Linked DNA regions of Homo sapiens: regions 1, 2, 3, 4 and 5 are each linked to region 6. The links are contacts of gene promoters, found by promoter capture Hi-C in human tissues and cell types (Jung and others, 2019). All regions are on one chromosome and are shown on one strand. The core of a region is centred on a gene start or on the middle of the fragment in contact, and the rest is flanking DNA. Distances in the headings are between cores, read along the strand shown.

Evidence for each region. The method cuts DNA at HindIII sites, captures the fragments that hold promoters and counts their contacts. A contact is called where the count stands out against the background at its distance.
Region 1: a fragment that was not itself captured here is called in contact with the fragment with the promoter of RPS16 in region 6 in 1 of the 25 tissues and cell types used here (lymphoblastoid cells).
Region 2: a contact is called between a fragment that was not itself captured here and the fragment with the promoter of RPS16 in region 6, in 1 of the 25 tissues and cell types used here (lymphoblastoid cells).
Region 3: a contact is called between the fragment with the promoter of MRPS12 here and the fragment with the promoter of RPS16 in region 6, in 1 of the 25 tissues and cell types used here (small bowel).
Region 4: a contact is called between the fragment with the promoter of CLC here and the fragment with the promoter of RPS16 in region 6, in 1 of the 25 tissues and cell types used here (neural progenitor cells).
Region 5: a contact is called between the fragment with the promoter of FBXO27 here and the fragment with the promoter of RPS16 in region 6, in 1 of the 25 tissues and cell types used here (liver).

What each region holds. Positions count from the first base shown.
Region 1 is chr19:39,783,721-39,786,891 of GRCh38, reverse strand. LEUTX (leucine twenty homeobox) reads right to left here. Exons shown (of 3, transcript NM_001382345.1): 2 at 2,214-2,365; 3 at 601-1,194. The coding sequence ends at 757. Among named protein-coding and RNA genes, the nearest start is that of LEUTX, 6.5 kb to the right of the region's middle. The HindIII fragment of the contact is 5,263 bases long and covers 1-3,171 here.
Region 2 is chr19:39,141,791-39,145,200 of GRCh38, reverse strand. All of the region lies in intron 1 of PAK4 (p21 (RAC1) activated kinase 4), which reads right to left. Among named protein-coding and RNA genes, the nearest start is that of PAK4-AS1, 6.9 kb to the right of the region's middle. RefSeq lists enhancers at 1-114, 115-1,111. The HindIII fragment of the contact is 5,182 bases long and covers 1-3,410 here.
Region 3 is chr19:38,929,139-38,932,429 of GRCh38, reverse strand. MRPS12 (mitochondrial ribosomal protein S12) reads right to left here and starts at 1,486. Exons shown (of 3, transcript NM_033362.4): 1 at 1,432-1,486; 2 at 1,087-1,154; 3 at 1-97. The coding sequence starts at 1,135. It overlaps SARS2 (seryl-tRNA synthetase 2, mitochondrial), which reads left to right and starts at 1,667. Exons shown (of 16, transcript NM_017827.4): 1 at 1,667-1,960. The coding sequence starts at 1,694. RefSeq lists an enhancer at 1,583-2,042. The HindIII fragment of the contact is 13,053 bases long and covers 1-3,291 here.
Region 4 is chr19:39,736,636-39,739,634 of GRCh38, reverse strand. CLC (Charcot-Leyden crystal galectin) reads left to right here and starts at 1,606. Exons shown (of 4, transcript NM_001828.6): 1 at 1,606-1,697. The coding sequence starts at 1,683. The HindIII fragment of the contact is 10,513 bases long and covers 1-2,999 here.
Region 5 is chr19:39,031,122-39,034,405 of GRCh38, reverse strand. It overlaps FBXO27 (F-box protein 27), which reads left to right and starts at 1,857. Exons shown (of 6, transcript NM_178820.5): 1 at 1,857-1,903; 2 at 2,153-2,542; 3 at 3,086-3,197; 4 at 3,282-3,284. The coding sequence starts at 2,179. RefSeq lists silencers at 2,079-2,148, 2,209-2,358, 2,559-2,638, 2,789-3,028, 2,878-3,060 and enhancers at 1,970-2,762, 3,169-3,278. The HindIII fragment of the contact is 13,585 bases long and covers 1-3,284 here.
Region 6 is chr19:39,434,551-39,437,788 of GRCh38, reverse strand. RPS16 (ribosomal protein S16) reads left to right here and starts at 1,840. Exons shown (of 5, transcript NM_001020.6): 1 at 1,840-1,941; 2 at 2,081-2,182. The coding sequence starts at 1,894. RefSeq lists enhancers at 1-403, 2,067-2,646 and a silencer at 1,587-1,686. The HindIII fragment of the contact is 40,426 bases long and covers 1-3,238 here.

The DNA.
Region 1 (3,171 bases), core at 666-3,165, 350 kb before region 6:
GGGTGGGTTTAGTGTTTCTGAGTGCTTCAGCTTTTGCTGCCTGTTTGATAAGACATTTTTTTTCTTGTCTTTTCTTCCTTTTCTTTTTTTTTTTTTTTGAGATGGAGTCTTACTCTGTCGCCCAGGCTGGAGTGCAGTGGTGCAATCTTGGCTCACGCAACCTCCGCCTCCCGGGTTCAAGCAATTCTCTTGCCTCAGCCTCCCAAGCAGCTGGGACTACAGGTGCCCACCACCACACCCAGCTAATTTTTTGTATTTTTAGTAGAGACAGCGTTTCACCATGTTAGCCGGGATGGTCTTGATCTCCTGACCTCGTGATCCACCCACCTTGGCCTCCCAAAGTGCTGGAATTACAGGCGTGAGCCACCGCGACTGGCCTGCTAAGACATTTTCTTAGTTGCCTGGTGTGTAGGAGTCTCTCCACTCACTTCTGACTTTCTTCCAGAGAGAACTGATGTAGGCACAGACGTTTATTCAGTCCATCAATCAGGAACCTCCTATGTCACTGTGTTCCTGGCGTCACTTCTCTGAATACAATCTTTAATGCTGAAATTTGGGTGAGGAGGCACTCAAATGGAGTTCAGAAAATGCAGGCAATGATGAAAGGTAGGGGAGTTCCTTTATTGTTTTTTCTACAGAAAAAGATAAATTCCCAGCCCCTGATCTACTTAGACTGGGGTCAAACCATTAAAGATGTGTGGAAATATGTCTCAGTGGGTCAGATCCAGACCTCCCCTAGAAGTGATGTGTAAGAAGTTACACTGAAGATTGGAGCTGGTCATACTCAAGGCATACTGGAAAAAGATATTGATTTAGGCTGCTGGTGTCATCTTCCCCTGGCAAGTCATAGATCTTTACAAATTCATCTATTTCAAAGAGAGTGGAGGCCCAAGGAGGATTTGAAGCCCCCAGACATATCTGTTCAATGTCATATGACTGAGAATCCCAGGATGAAACCCTCGCAGAGGCGCTGGCTCCTCCAGGATTCTTGATACCAGAAGGCTCACGTAGATCATGGTCATTTGCATCAGAGATTCCAGGACTTACTGGACGAATGTTTGCAGTAGTTATGGCTGAGGGAGTCTCCTCCTTCTTCACTGAAGTTGTCTGGTTTGCTGGCCCTAGTGATGGCCGTGTCTGCATTTGCTGCCGCTGCTGCCTCTTCCATTTGGCACGCTGGTTCTTGAACCAGATCTAAGGAGGGAGGAGGGGGGAGGTTAATAATGGATGTTGAGTATAAAGGGGCATCCTCATGTTCCTCAGGAATTCGGTTTTTTGGTGTGAGAGAGAGTCTCACATTTATTGGAACAAGGGAAGCCCTTTCTACTCTCTGCTGTCCTGGGTTTCAAGGGAAAAGTGGGTGTAGGATTGTACTAGCAATGGGTGGAATATGACCTAGATTGTGATGTATTAAATAGAAGGGTGTTTTTATTAGTGGTGTATTTTTTTTTTTTGAGACAAGCTACCACTCTGTCACCCAGCCTGGAGTGCAGTGCTGCAATCATAGCTCGCTGCAGCCTTGAACTCCTGGGCTTAAGCAATCCTCCTATCTCAGTCTCCCAAGTAGCTGGGACTACAGCCATGTGCCTCCATGTCTGGTTAATTTTTAATTTTTGTTTGTAAAGACATGGTCTTGCTATGTTGCCCAGGCTGGTCTTAAACTGGGCTTAAGCGATCCTCCTGCCTCCACCTCCCAAAGTGCTGGGATTACAAGTGTGAGCCACCATTCCTGGTGCCCAGAGAAAGTATTTTAAAGTCAGAGTATGGGGTGAGAGTTTAGCTTGGGTCATCTTTAGGGTTCATCCAGGTGTTCTCCCATGAATACTTTGTGGGAACTTAGTGACAGGCATCTGGATGACTGTGATGGTCCTGATTAAGCAGAACCCATCCTGAATACACAAGAACAGACCCAAATGGGAGTATCTGAGATCCAGCCTCAAAGAGTCCTGTGTAGCATGGTGGGTCTGGAGTTGGAAAGGTCTGGGTTCAAATTCCAACTCTTGTGTTTATAATGCTTGGAAGACAGCTCTTCTATGTGAGCTTTAGTGTTCCTCAATAAAGTGGGTGCTCATGACAATAAAAATATAAAGTGCTTAACATCTGTCCTTACACATAGCAATTGCCAATAAATAGGAACTGTTATAACAATGATCAAAAGTGTGTGTGAAGCTCTGGGTTAGGCGTGCTACCTACAGACACACTTGGGAACAGACCTTTACTACGGATAGATCAAGTTGTAGCTTTGAAGCCAGTTTCCCCATTGTAGCCAAACTTGGGTGCATGGTCTTTTCAAGCAATTCTCTCAATGCTGTGAGTTGTTTGGAGAGAAATCTTGTGCGTGGCCGACGATAACGCCTTGGCCCTTCTGCAGAGGGAACAGATAAAAGGCTTTCATTAAAAAAATTCGGAAGGAAATGAGGAGAGTACTACATCAAGGGAACACCTGTGGGACAAAAGAATCTGAACAACAGCCTTGAGCCCTAGACCGTCCCTCTGACAGAGCCTACACAAATGAGAAGGAACCAGAAAACCAAATCTGGTAATATGACAACACAAGGTTCTTTAACATCCCCAAAAAATCACATTAGTTCATCAGCAATGGATCCAAACCAAGAAGAAATCCGTGATATACCTGAAAAAGAATTCTGAAGGTCAGTTATTAAGCTAATCAAGGAGGCACCAGAGAAAAGTGAAGCCCAATTTAAGGAAATTAAAAAAAAAGATACAAGAAATGAGGGGAGAAATCTTCAGTGAAATAGAGAGCATAAATAAAAAATAATAAAAACTTTAGGAGACAATGGACGCCCTTTTATCCACTAGACCTAAGAAATGAGATAGACAGCAACACAATGACCAAGAACCCAAAAGCAAATGCAATAAAAACAAAGATAAATAGCTAGGACTTTATTAAACTAAAGAGATTTTGCATGGCAAAAGGAACAGCAGAGTTCTAGACAACCCACAGTCTAGAAGAAAATCTTCACAATCTATACATTTGACAAATGACTAATATCCAGAATCTGCAACGAACTCAAACAAATTAGCAAGAAAAAAACCAAACAATTCCATCAAAAAGTGGGCTAAGGACATGAATGACATGAATAGATAATTCTCAAAAGATATACAAATGGCCAACAAACATGAAAAAATGCTCAACATCACAAATGATTA
Region 2 (3,410 bases), core at 763-3,262, 290 kb after region 6:
TTAGCTGGGCAGCGGGCCTGAGGGTGGTCAGCAGGTGATTCTCTCTTCTCTTGGGGGTGTCTGAAATCTTTCACAATTCACCAAAAAAGAGGAACAATGAAAAGAAAGGGAGGAGAATGTTTTTGTTAGCACTGGGAAGGGCAGGTGAAGGAGAGGGCTTTCAGGGAGCTGGTGATGCCTGTCTTCTTGATCTGGGTGGTAGTTTCATGGCTGTTTGCTTTATAATTATTCATTAAACTGAACATGGAGGTTTTACACACTTTTCTGTACACATGTCAGATTTTACACCACCATGCAGGAAAAACCGGGAGAGCGATCCTGACAACTGAAAGCTTTCTCTGTATTTGCATGTGCCTGCAGTCTCTCCTCATTTCTTTACCGTCTCTCTTTACAATGAGCACAAGTGCACACACACACACACTCACACACATGCACACTTCCCAAAGCTGTTAACTTCCACCATAACCACAGCAGCATCCTCTGGCCCCTTGTAACTCCTGGCCTGTTTCCTGCAAGGAAGACAAAGGCCGGGAAGCAGCCGGCCCCTGAGCCCTCGGACTCATGCCACAACAGCCAGGTCTCTCCACATACCAGGCACTCTCAATCCTGCTCCAATCCCAGTCCCCAGGAAACCCTTCTGGCCTCCAGAACAAACCCAGATCAACAAGTCCCTGCCCTGGGGCACCACAGCTGGTCACCCAGAGTGGAAGGAGTTATTACTGAAGATTTGGGTCAAGCATCCCCCCGGCAGGGACGGCTTCTGGCTGGCTCATCGGTGCCCCGTGCTGGAGACAGGACAGCAGTGAGACCACTACAAAGTGTTACGTGCAGGCTCCATCCTGGTGCAAAAGAAGGCAGCGAGGAGGGTGCCGTTCACACGGTGTGTGAAGCAGGAGAGTGAAGCTCAGAGAGAAGACATGTCAGCCCTCAGTCACACGGCGAGTGTATCAGAACTGGGATTCCGTGGCAAGTCTGACCAGGACCAAAGTCCACTCACTTAACCATATCTATCTATCTATCTATCTATCTATCTAATCTAATCTATCTATCTATCTATCTGTCTGTCTGTCTGTCTGTCTGTCTATCTATCTATCTATCTATCTACCTGAGATAGGGTCTTGCTCGCTCTATCTTATCTATCTATCTATCTATCATCATAGGTTTTGCTCTGTCACCCAGGCTGGAGTGTAGTGGTGCAATCAGAGCTCACTGCAGCCTCCAACTCCTGGGCTCAAGCAATCCTCCCACCTCAGCCTCCTGAGTAGCTAGGACCCCATCATAGCTCACTGCAGCCTCCAACTCCTGGGCTCAAGCAATCCTCCCACCTCAGCCTCCTGAGTAGCTAGGACCACAGGCACATGCCACCACGCCCTTTTACATTTTAAATAATTTTTAAATTATTTTAAAACAATAATTTTAAAAATGTTTTGTAGAGCAGAGGTCTCACTATAGCCCAGGCTGGTCTCAAACTCCTGGGCTCAAGTGATCTGCCCACCTCAGCCTCCCAGAGTGCTGGGATGTGAGCCACTGTGCCCAGTCATTTTCTTTCTTTTATTCATTCATGCACTCAACAATTCTTTTTTTTTTTTTTTTTTTTTTTTTTTTTTTGAGACAGAGTCTTGCTCTGTCACCCAGGCTGGAGTGCATTGGTGTGATCTTGGCTCACTGCAACCTCCGCCTCCTGGGTTCCAGCGATTCTCCTGCCTCAGCCTCCCAAGTAGCTGGGATTACAGGCACCTGCCACCTCGCCAAGCTAATTTTTTTGTATTTTTAGTAGAGACGGGGTTTCACTGTGTTGGCCAGGCTCGTCTCGAACTCCTGACCTCAGGTGATCCACCCACCTTTGCCTCCCAAAGTGCTGGGATTACAGGCGTGAGCCACCACACCCAGCCTTTTTTTTTTTTTTTTTTTAATGCTTCTACCCAGTGAGCAACGACTCCTTAATATGCACTTAGCAGGTGCCAGGCACTGTTCTAGGCACCAGGGACACAGCAGTGAATAAGACAAGAGTCTCTGCTCTCCTGGAGTTGACATTCTAGTGGGAACACAATATACAAGTAAACAAGTGGGAGAAGGGACAGAGAGTGACAAGGTGCTCTTTCAGAGGGCACAGTCAGGGAGGTCTCTAAAGGGGTGGCGTCTGAGCAAAGACGGGATACAGGTGAGGAAGCCATGCAGAGTACCAGGGAACAGCACTGAGGGTGGAGGGCATGGTCAGTGAGGAGGCCCCCAGGACTGGAATCCGAGTGGCTGGAAGGGAGCAGAGAATGGAGCAGCTGAGGTCAAGGAGGTTTATGTTAAAATGCAGAAGTGGAAGGGCAGCTCCCAGAGGCCCAGTCACCACAGCCCAAGGGACGTATGGCCACCATCAGGCTGTCAAGAAGGAAGCAGGTAGAGAGGCTGGGAAAGCCACCCAGGGTGACACAGGCAGCCAAGGGTAGAGCTGGGGTGGGAGACCACTCTGTTCTGAAGGTGTCACCACCACGCGATGCGGAAGGGGTTGCCAGGGTGGGTGGCAGCAGCTCTCAGCTGGAAGCCTGTGGCCCTAGCAAAGCAGGAACCAGAGGCCCACATGTTAATGCCACTGGTTTACTTGAAGCCGGGGCACCCAGCCTATTGCTCCCAGGCCCCGGGGGGTGGGGAAGGGGGGACCCGAGCCTCAGTCCTTTGGTCCCTCCCACCCTACTTCTGCTGGATCTGGGTACCAGCCTTACTAGGAGTGACTTCAGAGTGTTCTTCTCAACCCACTCGCTTTTTTAAAAAAAACTTAATTTTTACTTGAAAACTGAACTTGACAGTCATACAGACATGTAAGTAATTCTGATGCTCATCCAAGCAACCACCTAAGAAAGCGTGCTTGCCAGAAGAAACTGAACCTGCATCAGATCGAGCTTCTAGACCTAAGTCCTAACTTACAGGAAGCACAGAGACAGAGAACACGTGCAATGACACCACAAGGATGTATCAGCTGGCCCCAGACTGCAAAACTCCAGGACAAATGGCCTAGGTCGCCTGTAGAAAAACTACGACAACATGCACGCCAAAGAGCTGATGCCAGTATCTGAGCATGACGGCGCACACCTGTGGTCCCAGCTATTCAGGAGACTGAGGCGGGAGGATTGCTTGAGCAGGGGAGGTCAAGGCTGCACGTGAGCTCTGATCGCTCCACTGCACTTCAGCCTGGGTAACAAAGGGAACAAAACAAAACAAAAAAAAGAGGCCTATCAACCGGATGCAAAGTGTAGACCTTGTCCAGACCCAAATCAAACAAATGGGCCGGGCGCCGTGGCTCACGCCTATAATCCCAACATTTTGGGAGGCCGAGGCGGGTGGATCACTTGAGGTCAGGAGTTCGAGACCAGCCTAGGAAACTCTGTCTCTACTAAAAAATACAAAACTTAGCCAGGCGT
Region 3 (3,291 bases), core at 237-2,736, 510 kb after region 6:
AGCTTCCGAGGCGGCCGCTTGGGGGGCCCCAGGCGGTGCATCTGGTTCAGGGTAGCCATGGAGCAGGTAGCCCAGAGCCGGGGAACCAGAGCTGGGCCTGGAGAGGGCCGAAAGGGGTTATTATCCCAGAGAACAGATCTTAGAGTAGTAGCAACTCAATTTTGGTGTTTTAGGCATTGTTTAAAGCACTTTACAAAGATGCATTTGTTCACATCTAATGTTATCTACAGACAAAAGTAACTCTTTATTCTTCAAGGAAGCATTACCTTTTTTTTTTTTTTCTTTTTTTTTTTTGAGACAAAGTCTCACTCTGTCGCCCAGGCTGGAGTGCAGTACCTCAATCTTGGCCCACTGCAACCTCTGCCTCCTGGGTTCAAGCAATTCTCCTGTCTCAGCCTCCTGAGCAGCTGGGACTACAGGCACCCACCACCACGCTCGGCTAATCTTCGTATTTTTAAGTAGAGACGGGGTTTCACCATGTTGGTCAGGCTGGTCTCGAACTCCTGACCTCGGCCTCTCAAAGTGCTGGGATTACAGGCGTGAGCCACCACGGCTGGCCAGGAAGCATTATTTTTAATGCTGTTTAAAATAATAGTAGGCTCAGTGGCTCATGCATGTAATCCTAGCACTTTTGGAGGCTGTGGAGGGTCACTTGAGCTCAGGAGTTAAGGCCAGACTGGGCGACACAGGGAGACCTCCCTCTCTACAAAGAATCAAAAAGTTAGCTGGTTGTGGTTCTGCAGGCCTGTGGTCCCAGCTACTTGGGAGGCTGAGGCGGGAGGATCACTTGAGCCCAGGAGGTCGAGACTGCAGTGAGCTGTGATCACACCGCTGCACTTCAGCCTGGGCGACAGAGGGAGATCTTAAATAAATAAATAATAAAACTGACCCAAACGCCGCTTGACACGCAGTAGCCCTCCATGCAGCTGCTTCCCACCTCTTGCTCTAGCAGCCCTAGCTCTGCCAAAACCCCACCGTGTTTTTCCACCCCCGTTTCCCTCGGGGCTCCGACGGAGGCACACAAGTCCAAGAGCGAATAACCCTCCCCCTCTAGCCTCGTCCCTGAAGCCCAAGTCCCCCACTTACCACAAGTTAGGGACGTGTTGAGGCCATGGAGAAGGCCAGACCAGGACATCCTGCCACCTGGGCCGTCCCTGTGGTAGGGGATAAGAGACTCAGAAAGGAGGAAAAAGTGACCGATCCGCAAATGCTCCCCGATCCGCTCTCAGGACTTTCTGGCTTAAATCAAAGGAAATACCTCTATAGGTCTAACCACAGGCCCTCATGCTGCTAACAGAAAGTCCCTCCGTAAATTTAGCCTCGCTCTGAGTGGGTTCCCGAGGGCCCAACCACTCTCGCCCGCACGCAGGAAGAACTGGGAAACTGGGGAGATGGCCTGGTAGATTTGGAGGACCCCAGGATTCCACCGACCTCACAGGACCTAAAGGTGAGGTCGCGGACACGCTGAATCCAGCTTCTAGCCTCTTCCGGGCGCTATCCGTGCAGGGATTGGCTGGTTCTGCCTCGCGTCACTGAAGAGGCGGGACACAGACGACGATTGGGCGACGAAGGACTCTATCGCGGTCAACTTTCCTCAGGATCTGATTGGCTCGTCACGGTCAGGTTCGCTGCCTTGCAATTGGTCTAAACGCGGAGTGGGCGGGACGAAGTGCCGCCTTGTTCCCGGTCCAAGATGGCTGCGTCCATGGCGCGGCGCTTGTGGCCTTTGCTGACTCGTCGGGGGTTCCGGCCCCGGGGAGGCTGCATCTCCAACGATAGTCCAAGGAGAAGTTTCACTACAGAGAAACGAAACCGGAACCTCCTGTACGAGTATGCGCGCGAGGGCTACAGCGCACTCCCTCAGCTGGACATAGAGCGGTTCTGCGCATGCCCAGAAGAGGCCGCACACGCCCTGGAGCTCCGCAAGGGGGAGCTGCGCTCGGCGGACCTGCCCGCGATCGTGAGTGCGCCTGCGCCGGCCGGGGGGCGCAGACGTTTGCTTTACGGAAGAATTGGGTTTGCAAGATGCCCTCCGGCAGGGGGCGAACCTGTAGTAGGAATTTTAGTTATTTCCCAAGTTAGCCAACGTCTTGTGCATGGCACCCACTTATGTGCCAGTTGTCCAGTGAGTGCTGAGGCCCTACTATGTGCCAAGAATGCCTACTGTGTCCTGGACACCCATTATGCGCTTGTTTCATACTGCTCGCTGGGTACCTCCTGTCCTTTAGGAACTTGCTATGTGACATTGCCCTCCGTGCTGCAACCTCATGCCAGCCTTTCCCTAAGACCACAAAGGAAAATGGGGAGCCAAGTGTGAATCGGACGGGGTCAGGGCTGGGGTGTGGTGGAGCTCTTGCGTTTAGAGAGAGAGGTAGGGAGAGTTGTGCACCTCCGCCACACATAGCAGGCAGTTAAATAGAGTTAATGAATGAATGAATGAATCCATTAATGAATGGTTCTATTAAACTGATACTTAAGGTGCAACTGCTATATTCCGGTGTTCTAGATGTTGCAAATATGCGGTGAATAATAATAAAATTGCTAGCACTTATAAAAGGGAATTAGGACCGGGTTCACAATATCTCTGTGTTGAGGTGCTAACGATAGTGGGGTCCCCACGTCTTCCCATTCCTCTCTTGGACTCCCCTCCCAGCCTGTTTGAAGTGCTTTATTCACTTTAACCTCGTTTAATTTTCACAGCAACTCTATGAAGTAGGTGCCATTATTTCTCCCATTTTATCAGAGGGGAAACTAAGGCTTCGAGAAGCTAATTCACTTGCGCTAGGTCATGCAACTGGGAAGTGGCAGAGTGGGAATTTTAACCTGTGCTTTCTGGCCTAGAATCCACTTTTTTTTTTTTTTTTTTTGAGATAGGGTGTTGTTCTGTCGCCCAGGATGGCAGGATGGAGTACAGTGGTACAATTATAGCTCACTGGAACCTTGAATTCCTGAGCTCAAATAATCCTCCCACTCAGCCTCCCGTGTAGCTGGGACTACAGGCAGACACCACCACGCCCGGCTAAACTTTTGTATTTTTTGTTGAGACAGGGACATACTATGTTGCCCAGGCTGGTCTTGAACTCCTGCGCCCAAGTGATCCTCCCACCCTGGCCTCCCAAAATGCTGAGATTACAGGCATGAGCCACCACACCCAGACTCCACAATCTTAAGTACCCTGCTGTGCCCTCTCATGATCTGAGTTCACAGTCTAGTAAAAGACATTTTTTTTTTGAGATGGAGTTTTGCTCTTGTCTCCCAGGCTGGAGTGCGCTGCGACTTCTGCCTCCCAGG
Region 4 (2,999 bases), core at 357-2,856, 300 kb before region 6:
AATTTTATTTTTTTGTCGTTAAAATAATTGGTCTCGTATTATGCATGTTTTCTTCATGCCTTTTCATACTACAGCATTTCTTGAAGATATAGCCATGCCAGTACTGATAATTTTGTTTTTCTTTTATATATAGTCTATGTACTGGCTACTTAATTAAAAACTGTACTGTAAAAAATTTCAAATGTTTGCAAAAGGAGAGAACTGTCATCCCCAGATTATTTTAGAGCAAATCCCAGATATTATATAATTTCATACACAAAACCTAAAGTTTTTCGGGGGAACAGTGTGTGCTTGGAAAGATGTAGTTGAAAAGAAAGACTGAAAGCAAGTCGTAGGGCATAATGGATTTCTGAAGAAATAGTTGCAACCAGCAGAAGTATGGGCTATTGTGCAGAGGATATGGAAGTTAAAGAAGATCAATCTCTCTGCATCACTGAAAGGATTGCTGGAATGCCTGAGAAGTAAATAACATCAACATCTTTATCCACAGCTTACTAGGTGGCCAGACGCCCTGAACTGATATTTCTTCCCCAGTTCAGATGAATAGCTGGGATATTACTCAAAATTCTATTGCATATCTGTTGCAAGGAAAAGCAGTTCCTCTTTCCCTTCTGTGGTAATTTCTTACAAGCTACAGTTCTGGGCAGGGTGTGAGGGTGGTTGCCTAGAACGGGGTTTCCAAAGCTCCTTAATTGTGGCCTCTGACCCTTTTCATTGCTTCCATGTCCATACCCAGAGTCAAAACCCAAGGAATGCAGTGGGATGACATTACAAATTAATCTTAAGGAAATACGTTATATACCAAAAGAACTGTGTGATTGTGCTGATTTATATGAGCAGAATCTTGGAGTGCATGCTTGGAAATGAATTGTCAAGGTTTTAGATCAGGGAAAGTGGAATTTATTGTCGGGTCAAGCACAACTAATATTAATGCTAATGCATCCTCATCGCTTAGCTCCCACTTATGAGTGAGAAATCTCACCTTTCTCCAAGAATCTGCAGGAGAACGACAGCCTCAGATTTTGATTCACATGAAAAGAAATAGGGAAATAAGAGGGCGTACCTAAAGCCCAGGTGTCTGAGAGACAGAGTGGGAGTGGCTCTCACCTGGCAGAGCCAAGGGATCTGAGGGTGGGTAAAGAAGACACAAGTGTTTTCTCTACTTCTGTCCCCAGGTCCTGCGAATGATCAAGATCTATGCTCTCCCAGAACCACTGGAGAAGGAGGAGGAGGATTTTCTTTCAAAGCCAAGTGCCTTGCCCCCAGGATCTCCAGCTTTTTACCATTGCACAGGTTAGGAGAACGCACACCTTCCTGGTAGATTCTGCACAGTGGAGAAAAGGCTTCATGAGAAGCATGGAGGCTGGAACTCACACCACTCATCCTCACTCCATCGTCTTTATCTGTGCATTTCCCTGGTGACCCCTTCCTCCTCCAGTACCTCCCTCACTGTCGTTTCTGCTGCATCACAGGCACAGGCCTCCAAACAGGTGTGGTTGTGACTGAGTCTGTTTCTGACACCCCACCCCTTCTCACTGTGTGAGGAAACCTTCCTGGGAGGGGCTTGGAATCAGGAATAAAGCCAGAGGCAGGGCTGATAGGGGCCATTTAAATTCTGCAGCTCAGAGATTCACACAGAAGTCTGGACACAATTCAGAAGAGCCACCCAGAAGGAGACAACAATGTCCCTGCTACCCGTGAGTTAAAAAGGCACAGCCTTCAATAATCTCAGGTCACACAGAAAAGGGAAGAGGGAGATTTTATGGGATGAAAATATGAAAATTTCTACTGTGAATGCTTTACTGAGAGTTGTGGGTGTGTGGAAGAGAGACCCTAGGGCTATGGTATCTGAGATGCTCCTGGGGTAGGGGGGTAGGGGGTGTGGATGCTGGAACATTGTGACCCTCTGTGAGCATGTGATGGTATCTGATGAGAGTAAACTCTGCTAAAAATGATGTGACTTTAGACGGGATGTGTATGGCCCTCCAGGATATGGGTGGGTGTGTAAGTGATTGTAATCAGGTGACTGTGTTTTGTCTTCATGACTGTGATGTGAGTGTGTGTGTGAGCACAGCCGGACCAGTGCATGAGCATCTTTATATGCACAGTGAGCAGGTGTGTGTGACTCAGTGAGTGGCACGGCTCTGTGTGACTGTGAGTGTGTGTGCTGGAATGTGACTGGGTGTTGAACTGGGAACATGCATGTGGCCTTCTGTGCATGTGAAGGTTCCTCCCCACATAGCAGTACTCTGTCTAACTTCCCTTGTGCATCACTGTGGATCCCCGGTGACAGAACTTGTGGGATCTTGGGGCCCTTGAGTTACCGAGGACTTATCTCTGAGCATTTATGAGAGCAGAATGCATGAATTCTCAGGTGCCTTTTCCCAAGCAGAATGGGGGTGAGAAACAGACGATGGGGCTGATGGTTCCTTAGGTGGAATCTGCACACAGTGACCACTGGCTCCTGCCTCCAGCCTCAGGTCTCTCCCTGTCTCCTACCCTAGCCTGGCCTTCCCATTGAGTGCCAGGATGCTAGAGAAGGACATTGAGGGACTTGATTTAAGAGACTGAATCACCCAAAACCAGGAAGGTACAAGGCAGAGCTTACAGTGGATATTCATCAAGATGTTTGCTGAGGCCTGTAGTCTCAGCACTTTGGGTGGCCGAATTGAAAGGCCCATGTCAGGCCAGGACTGGTAGACCAGCCTGGGAGACATAGCAAGATTTCATCTTTCCAAAAATTTAAAAATTTATTGAATGTGGTGTTGCATACCGTAGTTCCAGCTGCTGGGGGGCATATGCAAGAGGTTCACTGAAGCCCAGGCCTTCAAACCTGCAGTAATTTTTTTTTTTTTTTTTTGAGACAGAGTCTCGCTCTGTTTCCCAGGCTGGAGTGCAGTGGTGCAATCTCGGCTCACTGCAACCTCCACCTCCCGGGTTCAAGCGATTCTCATACCTCAGCTTCCCGAGTAGCTGGGATTACAGGCTTGTGCCACCAC
Region 5 (3,284 bases), core at 608-3,107, 400 kb after region 6:
ATTTAATTATTTCCCTGATACTACGTAATTTGCTCATTATGCCAACTGTTTATCATGTCTCTCCCTCTAGAAGGTAAGTTCTTTGTGGGGAAGAATCCATGTCTGGTTTTGTTTGTTGATGTCTTAAACTATGTATACAGCTCACGTTATGTCGAAGCCAAATAAAATATAGAGATATAGAGACAAATCTCTCGATTTAAAATGTTTTGTTGCGGTGGCTCATGCCTGCGATCCCAGCACTTTGGGAGGCTGAGGCGGGCAGATCACCTGAGGTCGGGAGTTTGAGACCATCCTGGCCAACATGGTGAAACCCCGTCTCTACTAAAAATACAAAAATTAGCTGGGCATGGTGGCATGCGCCTGTAATCCCAGCTACTCGGGAGGCTGAGGCAGGAGAATCGCTTGAACCCATGAGGCGGAGGTTGCAGTGAGACGAGATTGCATCACTGCCCTCCAGCCTGGGCGACAGAGCGAGACTCTGTCTCAAAAAAATAATAAAATGTTTTATTTGGGAAGCAAGAATTGACATTCGAGGCATCCACACAGACCAGGCGGTCTTCAGAACTTTCAAAGAACAAAGAGGTTAGAGGTTTTTATAAGAAACAGAAATGTTAGGTATTGTTTTGCAAGAAAGTTCATTGACACTAGCAACGTTCTGGGGAGCTGGCAAGTTCTGACTGGTAAGTGACAGCAGAGGGAAAAACTAGTCTTAGAGTCACGGCAGGTTTTTTCAGTACCAGTTAGACTGCTTCCAGGTTACAACAGGCAGTTTTAACAGCCAGGCTTGCAGAGAATCACTTTCTTGGAGCAATGGTATCTGCCCTAAGTGTTTTCCCCCCGGCCTCTCAACTTTGTTTTAGTTGGATATGACAAGAAGGATCCAATTCACATGATCAACTTTCACAATTTTTTTTTTCTGTTTGTTTTTTGAGACGGAGTCTCACTCACTCTTTTGCACAGGCTGGAGTGCAGTGGTGCAATCTCTGCTCACTGCAACCTCCCCCTCCCGGATTCAAGCAATTCTCCTGCCTAAGCCTCCAAATTAGCTGGGATTACAGGCGCGTGCTACCACGCCCAGCTAATTTTTGTATTTTTAGTAGAGACGGGGTTTCACCATGTTGGCCAGGCTGGTCTCGAACTTCTGACCTCAAGCGATCCGCCTGCCTTGGCCTCCCAAAGTGCTGGGATTACGGGCATGAGTCACCGCACCCAGCCACAATTGTATTTTTATTGGACAGAGCTGATCTAGAGGTTAAAATGAGGAATTCCGGAGCTAGGCTGGCTGGATTCAAATCCCTACTAGCTGGTGATCATAGACAAGCCACTTGGCCTCTGCTGGTCTCAGTTTTTTCACCTGTGAAGTAAAGGGCATAACAGCACCTACTTCATGGGGTTGCCACCCTGGCTGGCAGTAAAACCGTCCATAAAAGTTGGCTGGTGTTACTATTGGTTGCATTAATTTTTAGCAGCCGGAGCCTGTTTTCTCCTGTGAAATGAAGATAACCACGCCCGACCTTAAAGGTGATGGAAATTTTTTAACACGTTAACGGATACGAGGCCTCCCACTCAGAAGCCTGACCAAAATAACAATGGTTGCTCAGAGCCAGACGTCTCATTGCTACTAACGAATTAGGGACACTTCAAGGGGCCGGCTGGAGGGGACGGCTGTGAGCAGCAGGCCTTGGCTCCTGGCTGCACCTGGCCCCGTCGCGGGAAGCAGGTTGGGTTTGGAGAGCGGGAGGGAGCAGGCGGGAGGGGCTGGCGAGTAAGAAAGAGGATGCAGGGGTGGGTGAAGCTGGCTAGTAAGAGGGGAGGGGCCGGCGAGTAAAAAGGACGCAGAGGGGCGTGGGGAGCTTGCGGCACAGCTAGGGCATCCCGGCGAGGAGCGCCGCCAGGCCCCGGGGTAGGACTTGGGGTGCGGTGTCGGTGCGGCCGCCGAGGGGGGCTGATTGCATGCAATTCGGGGCATACACACAGACCGCGGGGTCTCCGGGATATCGGGGCTATCAAGGACGGGCTGGGGGATGGGGACTTGGGGACGGGGCCCAGGGATGGTGAAGACGGGGGTGCGGCTGGCAGAATCAGGGCAGGCAGAGGCTGCGCGCCGCGGAGGCTGCTGGTCCCTGACGCCTTGACCCTTCCTCTCCCGCAGCCACAGCCGGGCCTGGCGGGGGGACCATGGGCGCCTCGGTCTCCAGGGGCCGGGCCGCCCGGGTCCCCGCGCCGGAGCCGGAACCCGAAGAGGCGCTGGACCTGAGCCAACTACCCCCAGAGCTGCTTCTGGTGGTGCTGAGCCACGTCCCCCCGCGCACGCTGCTCGGGCGCTGCCGCCAAGTGTGCCGGGGCTGGCGAGCCCTGGTGGACGGCCAGGCCCTGTGGCTGCTGATCCTGGCCCGCGACCACGGCGCCACCGGCCGCGCGCTGCTGCACCTCGCCCGCAGCTGCCAGTCTCCCGCCCGTAACGCCAGGCCTTGCCCCCTGGGCCGCTTCTGCGCGCGCAGACCCATCGGACGCAACCTTATTCGCAACCCCTGCGGCCAAGGTGGGATCTCGGAAGAGGAAGTCCAGGATGCTGGGCCACAGTGGGAGCGGTAGCGGGGCCGGAGGGGCGGGGCCGCACTGGGACCGGTACTAGGGGCCGCAGGGGCAGGGCCGCAGTGGGACCGGTGGGAGGAGTCGGAGAGGCGGGGCAGCATTGGGAGCCGGTGTGAGGTGCCGGAGGGGCGGGGCAGCATTGGGAGCCGGTGGGAGGTGTCGGAGGGACGAGGCAGCATTGGCACGCAGGGTGCAGGGCTGACTGGGCAGGGCTTCACCGTTTGCCTGTGGGAGGGGTGGGAGTGGGGCAGTTCTGGGAGCCCGAGAGAGGGGTTGGAGGGGCAGGGCTTTGCTGCAAATCAGTGAGAAGGGCCAGAGGAGCGGGGCTTTGCCCTGAGCTGGTGGGAGGGGAAGGGGGCGGGGCCTCGGTGGGAAGGGTCAGGTGAGTGAGCTGCACTGTGAGCACGTGGGAGGGGCTAGGGGCGGGGTCTCACTAGGAACCAACAGGCGGGCGACTGGAACTTGGGCACAAGCCTTTTTTATTTCACAGAAGGCCTCCGAAAGTGGATGGTGCAACACGGTGGGGACGGCTGGGTGGTGGAGGAAAACAGGACAACCGTGCCTGGGGCCCCTTCTCAGACGTGCTTCGTGACTTCATTCAGGTGAATGCCCCTGCTATCCAAAGGTCCGGCCCCTTGTTGAGAAAGGCCTGCCTGTTCTCATTACCCTGTCTCCTGCATTCCCAGCTG
Region 6 (3,238 bases), core at 591-3,090:
CTCTTCGCTGGGGAGACTCTTGATGGGGTGAGACGCAGGGACATCTGCCGGGGAACCAGAGGACAACCCAATCCTGGGGTTCCTCAGGTGGGGTTGGGGGGCTGGGGATGGAGAATTCTGTGGGGAGGAGGCTTAAGTGGAGGGTGATTTGGGGGAGAGGAAAAAGATGACTGGGAGATTCTGGAGAAAGAGATTCTAGGGGCTGGGCGCGGTGGCTCACGCCTGTAATCCCAGCACTTTGGGAGGCTGAGATGAGTGGATCATTTGATGTCAGGAGTTCGAGACCAGTCTGGCCAATATGGTGAAACCCCGTCTCTACTACAAATACAAAAATTAGCCGGGCGTGGTGGTGCATGCCTGTAATCTCAGCTACTCAAGAGGCTGAGGCAGGAGAATCGCTTTAACCGGGGAGGCAGAGGTTGCAGTGAGCAGAGATCATGCCACTGCACTCCAGCCTGGGCGACAGAGCAGGACTCTGTCTCAAAAAAAAGAAAAAAAAAAAACAAAAAACAGAGAGATTCGGCCGGGCGTGGTGGCTCACGCCTGTAATCCCAGGACTCTGGGAGGCTGAGGCGGATCACATCACCTGAGGTCAGGAGTTCGAGACCAGCCTGGCCAACGTGGTGAAACCCCATTTCTACTAAAAATACAAAAAACGACCAGGGCGTGGTGGTAGACGCCTGTAATTCCAGCTACTCGGGAGCCTAAGGCAGGAGAATCTCTTGAACCCGGGAGGCGGAGGTTGCAGTGAGACGAGATCGCACCACTGCACTCTAGCCAGGGCAACGAGCGAAACTCCGTCTCAAAAAAAAGAGAGAGATTCTAGGGTGGGGACGGGGAAGAGGTTAATTCTTGGGGGAGGGTCTCTTAGGAGAGGGGGATTCTAACGGAGGGAAAACTCCAGGGAAGGCAGTTGCTGGGAAGAGGAGTCTCGGAAGGGAAATAAACTCAGGAGAAAGGTAGATTTTGAGGGACGGGTCTCTGAGAGAAAAGTTTTTGTGGATTTGCGGGGCGGGGTGTTCTGGGAAAGGGGGATTTGCCGGGAAAGGGGGATTTGCCGGGAAAGGGAGATTCTGGAGGAGGGAGATTCCAGGGGTACTGGGTCCTGACAAGAGAAAGATTCTGGGAAGGGTGACTGAGGGGACGAGGACCGAATGGAGGGAGATTCAGGGAAAAGGGGGGTCTAAGTTGAGCACTCTTAAGAGGGACATTTGGGGTTGGCCATCTGAGAGAAGGATGGGAAACATTCTGGGAAGAGGAAACTGAAAGGAAGGACATTCTGGTGAAAGGGAGATTCTGAGGGGAAGGGGCTCTGAGGGGAAAAGGATTCTGGGAGAGGATCCCCAAGGAGGGGGATTCTAGGGAGGATAGGATTCTGGAAGTCCTTAATCTGAGAATCCAGCCAGATTTCTTGCAGTAGATTCCAAAGGAAGATTCTGATGCGGGGGATTCGGGGAGGAGGGAGTCCAGAGGGGAGAAAGATTACAGGTGTTGGGAGGGTGGGAACTGATTTAAAGAAAGGGCGAAGGGAGATTATTAAAGAGCCAGAATGCAAAGAAGAGCTGCGGTAGTCGACTACAGAGGACGCGAAGCACACTCCCGCAGCCTTCCCTTCAGTCCGCACACGACACTCCCAGGCCCCGCCCCTTCCGCCCACAGAGCCCGCCACTTCCGCCTCACAGGGCCCGCCCGCTCTGAGCGCCTAAGGGCCTTCCCGCCGCTGACCAGACGCCCCGCCCGTTAGCCGCAACAGAAGCCGTAAAGCTCTCTCCCGTCGCGACGCAGTGCTCAAGGCGCCTGCGCAGACCCTGAAAAGCGGCCAGGGTGGCCCCTAGCTTTCCTTTTCCGGTTGCGGCGCCGCGCGGTGAGGTTGTCTAGTCCACGCTCGGAGCCATGCCGTCCAAGGGCCCGCTGCAGTCTGTGCAGGTCTTCGGACGCAAGGTGAGCCAGACGCCGGATGGGAAGGGGAGGGGAAGGAGAAGGCCAGGGTCTGGGAGAGGTCGGTGGGCAGGAATCTAGGGGGTAACATGGGAGCTGGAGCCGGAGCTCACGGGGCCCCTGTTTCTCTTGTATCTTACAGAAGACAGCGACAGCTGTGGCGCACTGCAAACGCGGCAATGGTCTCATCAAGGTGAACGGGCGGCCCCTGGAGATGATTGAGCCGCGCACGCTACAGTACAAGGTGCTGGGATCCGGCACCGGCGTTGAGTGGATGGAGGACTCTTGGAGACAGAGATGTTGTAGCTCTTGAAAGCTGGGGGGGCTGGCATCAGCAACGGGATGTTTAGAAGTTGTGTTGGGTGTAGAACAGTGGGGTATTTGGCAATAGAGCTGGGCTTGGGGTTCAGAAGATGTAAAAGCTGAGATGGGGTTGTTGAAGATTAAGGGTTTGCTTTGAGAACTGGGATGTTAGGAAGCTCACCTCACTGGGGCGGGGGGACCCAAAGGGTGAAGGGACACCGACTATTTTTTATTTTATTTATTTGTTTTGAGAGGGAGTCTCGCTGTGTCGCCCAGGCTGGAGTGTAGTGGCGCGATCTCGGATCACTGCAACCTTCGCCTCCCGGGTTAAAGCGATTCTCCTGCCTCAGCCTCTTGAGTAGCTGAGATTACAGGCATGCACCACCACGCCCGGCTAATTTTTGTATTTTTAGTAGAGACGGGGTTTCGCCATATTGGCCAGAGTGGTCTCGAACTCATTACCTCAGGTGATCCACCAGCCTCGGCCTCCCGAAGTGCTGGGATTGCAGGCGTCAGCCACCGTGTGCGGCCGAATTTGGGTCTGTTTAAATGCTTGCTTGTAAAAGGGGTTCCTCTGTTCCCTTTTTGGGACTCTCAATTTCTTTGGCTCAGAATGGAAAGAAACCAGAGTCTGATTTCTGCCCCTTCTGAACTCTACTACTTTTAAAAGAAAGAATATCTACATTGCAGGGTCAGTTAAAAAAATTTTTTTTGAGTTATAAGGTTCTTTTTTAAAAACAGTATCTTGCTGTCACCTACCCTGGAGTGCAATAGCACAATCCTAATGAACTGCAGCCTTAAACTCCTGAGTTGGAGATCCTCCCACCTCAGCCTTTCGGTTGCCAAGACTACAGGCACATCACCACGCCTGGCTCATTTGAGAAATATTTTTCTGTAGACGTGGGGTCTCACTTTATTGCCCAGGCTGGTCCTTGGTCTCATGTGATCCTTCTGCCTGGACTGGGATTACAGGTGTGATCACCATGCCTGGCCTAGA